2 separate regions of the Homo sapiens genome follow, and region 2 is linked to region 1. The links are contacts of gene promoters, found by promoter capture Hi-C in human tissues and cell types (Jung and others, 2019). All regions are on one chromosome and are shown on one strand. The core of a region is centred on a gene start or on the middle of the fragment in contact, and the rest is flanking DNA. Distances in the headings are between cores, read along the strand shown. Region 1 holds the start of LRRC63 (leucine rich repeat containing 63). Region 2 overlaps LRRC63 (leucine rich repeat containing 63).

Region 1 (3,220 bases), core at 554-3,053:
ACACTTTAATAAATATAAACAGTTGATTTGTTAACATTGAACTTAGGGCCAACAACACTACTCACACCTGAAGGAAACTTATCTAACACATATCTTGTTCTCTGTAAGGCCCATCACAGCCTTCTTGTGCTCAGGAACACTAGACAGTACTTCAACACTATGCTTGGGGCCCACAGTGAAATCACTAACTAAAAGCACAAACATTCAAGAAACATAGAGCTAAACAGACAGGGAAAACAGTACCCGTTTACAATATGAGAGCTGAAACAAGAAGGTAGAGGTAGCCTTGTTCCACCTCAGCTGGAGGCATGTGTGTTGGGTGACTCATTTTCAGTGCTCTGCACATATCCACGCATGACTGAGAAAGCCCTTTGAGTACCAATTCTGGGGTTACAAGTAAATTTTATCGATGAGATAAACTTGAATCTACTAAGTCCACCAATAAGTATCAGTAAATGCATCTGTGGAATTGAATTGGATGTTATCACCTGACAACAAACATTTGTAAGTTATTAGTGAGTGTATTTATTGTGATTCTGAGCTGTGCAAGTCAAGGAATTTCTATGAAAGATACATAAATGTTAATACACATATCTGATTAATACACATACCTGTATGGGTTTTTTTCTCATGTAAAGACAGCTTAGTGAATTTTGGAGGTAAGGGTCTTCGAAGAAGCAGTGGGGGCTTTTGCATTTTAATGAATAATAAGTGCTGTTTTTCATAATCCTTGGTTTAAATGAGAATTGAAAAGGTTTTGAATATGTTTGAATTGTTGAAAAATAATAAGAATTTAGATTACATCTTAAAGAAAATCATTCTGTACCAATACTCTACTGAATCCAGGCAGAATTCCTTTATGAAAAAAAAAGAGGGTAAGAAAATAATTCTTTAAAACTTCTATTAATAGAAAGAATCCAGTTAAAATGTAGGGTTATAAGTAAACATAGAATTTTAAAAATATGTGTATTATTACTACCCAGGATCATTCTACAATTTTCCATGTTAGTACAAAGTTCAATTTGCCAATGCTATTTCAACTAGTAAATACTGATTTTTCAGAATAGTCGAAATGACATTTTTTTTCTCTCTCTCCAAAATGTTATCGCTATAAATGTAGAAAGAGAATTTGGTCAGAAATGTGTAGAAGATGCCTTCATTAGATAAGCCTCTGAAGACCCACCATATCTAACCATTCACAAACAAATTGTTTTCTTTCTATAATGGCTTGTTTTTCAACCACTATGCTTGGGCCAAAACAATTCAATCCTAAAATAAGATGGGTTTCACTATAATGAGATTTCCCAGGGCTGCTGGATCCCAACTCATACTGTTTAGAAATAATGCGAGAAGATGCACCCCCAAAATGTGCTTTTAGTTTGCAGGGCAACATCAAAAGTGCCTGGCACGGCATTATTCCATTGATAGCCTAGAAGGGAACACCCTGAAACTGCACAAATGGGCCGTTTACCGCCAAAAGATAACTGCACACAAGCGCTCAAGGTGTACTCCCTGGTCATATGTTCCACACGATGCTGGAAATCTCCCTTCCGTAGTACCCAAAGAGGGGCATGGAAGTGCTGGACTCCCACACTACCCTTTAGGATAATCGGCCGCTTTCCAAACCAACTGGCTTTTCGTCTCCTATCTCCTTTTCCTCGGAATCTAGGCAGCGAGGTAAAGGTCCAGCGAGGGTCTTCCTGCAGGAGGCTGTTCCCGAAGAAGCACCACGGATCCCCACCCTCTAGGAGGCCAAGGAGACACACCCTAGCAACCGGGGTCCGCTAAGCCAGCCCAGCCACTTGACGCGCAGGCGCGGGGGCGGGACAGGCGAGGCGGGCGCGGGACAGGCGAGGCGAGGCGGGCGCCGGGAGGGGCAGGCCCAGCCCACGGTGCAGCGCGCGCGGAGCCCTCGCCTTCCTCCGACGCACTGTGGGGCTGCAGGGGAAGCTGCGGGCCGTGGGGGCCGGAGGAGAAGCCGGCTCCACGCGCAGCTGCTGTACGGAACGCCGTGGTGACAATTGTTATTACTATTTTTATGCTTAATGGCAATGACCACTATTATTTATTATTTTCTCTCGATTACAGGATGCTTTACTTGGGTGTCTAGAATATGGGCTGGCATTCTTTAAGGCTGCACTTTTGTGCAGCCGGGTCCCGGGGCTAATTTTGCAGTGCTCTCGAAAAGCGGGCATTCGGTTTTCTTTCTCTTCCTTTCATGCAACCTGTTTTCTCTTTCTGATCCTTTAAAGTTCCTGGCTGAGGCTGGATTGTGTAGAAATAAGGGCATTAGGGATCCAAGCGGGCCATAAAAGAAACCCATTTCTCACTGTCATCGTCCTCTGTTCTGGTTATCATATTGTGACGTGTCGCCTCTGTCATGGTGTTGATGAACCTGTGTGTGCAGTCATAGATACATCGTGTGTGTTTGCAAAAATGTGCGTGTTTCTCTGGAGATTTGAGGGGGAAAGAGCACTAGAAAGAGCTCATCTGATAGATGCGGAAATCCGAACTCAGAAAGTAAACTAGGTAGAGCTTCCTTCCAGGTTTGGTTTTTTCTAAGTACTAGCGCAGGAACTTTATAACAGAAGTTGGAAAATGAGAGACTTCTGTATAAATCTTTCTAGCTTTGGGGATCTTTCAAGATTCACACCATAACCATGTCTTCCTTTTTCTCCTTAGTAGCAAACATGTTTTAAAACAATCAATGAAAAAAGTAGAAAAGTTTTAACAAAAAAGTAATCAGACTCTGGAAAATATTATGCAACTTGTTTTCCTTTACAGTAGTAGTGTACTGTTTCTTTTCCTTGTAAGTTTACTGTGTCCCAATTATACTGCTGCCCCAGACTATGAATTTATTTCCACTTTTGCTGTTATCTACACCATAGATTCATTAGTTTCTCAGAAATACAAAGCTGAAAATAAAAGGCAGCTCTGTGGCTAAGATTAGTCTCAAGTAATATATATCGTGCATATTTTGTAAATGTGAAAAAAGGTTTATATTTTTAAGCATAAAAAATGACAGTGTAAATTGAGTCAGGTACCTATGCTCTTCAAGATCGTTGGAACCATGAGAACTACAGGAATTCAGTTTTACTGACTGACGTTTGGCCTTTAAAATTTATGCTTAGCTTTGTGTAGTCGAAAGCAAGGCTTCTGAATGCTTTTTCAAAAAATGCTTTGTCACACTTGGAATCCGCAGGCATCCAGGTATCATTCC
Region 2 (3,177 bases), core at 79-2,578, 63 kb before region 1:
GAATAGACTATTCACAGAAGAAGAAAAAATGAATGTCAAGAGAACACAGGTAAAGCTTTTCAATCTCCCTAGTAATCGGGGAATACAAAACAAAATAGCAAAGAAATACCATTTCACAATCATCAGATTATAAGAATATGTTTAAGTATTTAAACAAACTATAAAACCACTGGAAGAAAACACAGTGGAAATGTTTCAGGACATTGACCTAGGCAAAGATTTTATGGCTAAGACTTGAAAAGCATAAGCAACAAAAATAAAAATAGACAAATGGGACTAATCTCGAATTAAAAACCTACTGCACTGCAGAGGAAAAATCAACAGAATCAACAGCCTACAGAATGGGAGTAAATATTTGCAAAGTATTCATCTGACAAGGCACTAATGAATATATGATGAACTTAATTCAACAGCAAAAAAAAAAAATCTGATTTTAAAATGATCAAAGAATAGATATTCTCAAAACAAGACATATAAATTGGCCAATAAGTATATGAAAAAATGCTCAACATCACTAATATTTAGGGAAATGCAAATCAAAACCATAATAAGATATCTTACTCTAGTGAGAATGGCTATTATAAAAAAGACAAAAAGTAAAAAATGCTGGTAAAGACGCAGAAAAGAAGCAACTCTTACACAGTTTCAGTGGTAAATGTAAATTAGTACAGCCATCAGAATGGAGGATGGCGGTTTCTCAAAAAACTAAAAATAAGGCTATCATACTATCCAGCAATCTCATTACTGGGTATTTATCCAAAGCAAAGGAGATCAGTATATTGAAGGGACAGCTGCACCCCCATATTTATTGCAGCTCTATTCACAATCGCCAAGATATGGAGTTGACCTAAATGTTTATCAACAGATGAATGGATAAAGAAAATATGGTATGTACACACAATGGAATACTATTCAGCTATAAAAGGAATAAAATCTTGTCATTTGTGGCAACAGGGATGATCCTAGAGGACACTATGTTAAGTGAAATAAGTCAGGCACAGAACGGCACTCATGTGGAAACTAAAAACAAATTGAGCTCATGGAAGTAGAGAGTAGAATTGTGGTTATTAGAGGCTGGGAAGGGTAAGAGGAAGAGGAGGATAGGAGAGGTTAAAAATGGAAAAAAAATCACAGGTAGATAGGAGTTTTAGTGTTCTATAGCACTGTAGGTGAATATAGTTAACAATAATTTATTGTGTATTTTCAAAAAGCTAGAAGATTTTAAATGTTCACAACACAAAGAAATGATAAATAAGGTGATGGATATACTAAGCTGATTTTATCATTACATACTATATACATGTATTGAAATATCACCCTGTATGTTACAAATATGTATAATTATGTGCCAACTAAAAATAAAAGAAAAAAATAAAAACAAACAAAAATTTCTATCATTCTTATGCTCAAGGAAGTCAAGGTAAAAATCTGTGGAACATGAGTCTTCTGACCCCATTCTCAATGGAAGTGGATTCTCTGTCTGAGGTGATACAATGTGGGTAGAGAGACAGAGAGAGGCAGACAGCAATGATAAGTTGTACAGGACAGAAAAGACATACATAGCTGCTAATTGACAGGGCAGCCATTGGAGTGACAGCAGTAGCTGAGCTTAGAGTGACTTTAGTGCAAGCCTACAGCTGAGCTGCAATCCAAAGAACTCAGCGAAAGTAGGACAGTACCGAAATTTTCAGTAGCTAGCAATTCAGGATTAAAGCCAAGGGCAGACACTGGAGGATGACAGTGGTTGGGTGACAAATCCCTCCCTCACTGTTCTTATTTTTACTAATGTCACAGTCATCTTTGATGAGATTGAACCCTTTGTCATTTTTCATCCTCCCTCTCTCACTCGGCTCACATACCTAGGTATGTTAATTTTACCTCCATAATTTGTCTTGCATTTCCTGCCTGTTCATACCCATACTTATTACTTTGGATCAATCCCTCCTTACCTGTTATGGACATGAGTGTTTTAACTGACCTCCACCCAGCCTTCCCCTGCACTAGTCTATCTGTGACATACTGCCAGGTCTATTTGTGCTATTTGGACTCAGTGACTCTCAAGGCCTGAAGAAAAAAACTTCCAATGCATTCAGTGATCTCCAATGGACAACTAGCTAACTCCATTTATTTCTTTTTAGCTCACTTCTTGGTACTTTTTTTTTTTTTTTTTTGAGACAGAGTCTTGCTCTGTCACCCAGGCTGGAGTCCACTGGCATGATCTCAGCTCACTGCAACCTCTGCCTCCTGGGTTCAAGTGATTCTCCTGTCTCAGCCTCCCAAGTAGCTAGGATTACAGGCATGTGCCACCACGCCCAGCTAACTTTTGTAATTTTAGTAGAGACTGGGTTTTGCCATGTTGGCCAGGCTGTTCTTGAACTCCTGACCTCAGGTGATCAGCCTCTTCCACCTCCCAAAGTGTTGAGATTACAGGCGTGAGCCACCATGCCCAGCCACCGCTACTCTTTTTTTTTTTTTTTTTTTAAGGCAGATTCTCACTCTGTTGCCCAGGCTGGAGTGCAGTGGCACAATCTTGGCTCACTGCAACCTCAGGCTCCTGGGTTCAAGTGATTCTCCTGCCTCAGCCTCCTGAGTAGCTGGGACTACAGGTGCCCGCCAGCACGCCCCGCTAATTTTTTGTATTTTTAGTAGAGACAGGGTTTCACCACATTAGCCAGGATTGTCTCGATCTCCTGACCTCATGATCTGCCACCTCAGCCTTCCAAAGTGCTGGGATTACAGGAGTGAGCCACCGCGCCCGGTCCACTACCCTTTATGGATGTTTTGTTCTGGCTGAATATTTATTTTTCTCTTTGTACACATCCCTCTTTTCCCATTTTGTTTCCTCTTTCTGGAATGTCCCTTGAACACAAGACATAGTTCCAAATTTTACTGGTCCTTCAAGACCCTTCTCAAATACTATTTCATCCCTGAATCTTTCCCCTATGTCCCCAACTATTTGTTATCAGCTCCTCCTCCAGCTGCTTTTATTTATAATTCACTTGTGTCAGTTTTTATTTACATGAAAATGAGTCCTTGTAAAATTTCCAAACAATAAGGAAATATAGAGAGAAAAACACAGAGATTCCTGCTTATTCCTCTCTTCAATCACTGGAACTCCTCTCCCTAGAATAACTAAAGCTCTTCCCTTGGGTTGTCCCCTCCAGCTCCTAGATAAGT

The links. The method cuts DNA at HindIII sites, captures the fragments that hold promoters and counts their contacts. A contact is called where the count stands out against the background at its distance.
Region 2: a fragment that was not itself captured here is called in contact with the fragment with the promoter of LRRC63 in region 1 in 1 of the 25 tissues and cell types used here (dorsolateral prefrontal cortex).

The regions. Positions count from the first base shown.
Region 1 is chr13:46,210,511-46,213,730 of GRCh38, reverse strand. It overlaps LRRC63 (leucine rich repeat containing 63), which reads right to left and starts at 1,803. Exons shown (of 10, transcript NM_001282460.2): 1 at 1,472-1,803; 2 at 612-729. The coding sequence starts at 696. LOC107984578 (a long non-coding RNA gene) reads left to right here and starts at 1,879. Exons shown (of 4, transcript XR_001749863.3): 1 at 1,879-3,220. RefSeq lists a silencer at 1,718-2,047. The HindIII fragment of the contact is 9,677 bases long and covers 1-3,220 here.
Region 2 is chr13:46,272,906-46,276,082 of GRCh38, reverse strand. The region is part of intron 9 of LRRC63 (leucine rich repeat containing 63); the gene reads right to left. It overlaps LOC105370194 (a long non-coding RNA gene), which reads left to right. Exons shown (of 3, transcript XR_941946.4): 3 at 1-1,382. Among named protein-coding and RNA genes, the nearest start is that of LINC00563, 23 kb to the left of the region's middle. The HindIII fragment of the contact is 5,403 bases long and covers 1-3,177 here.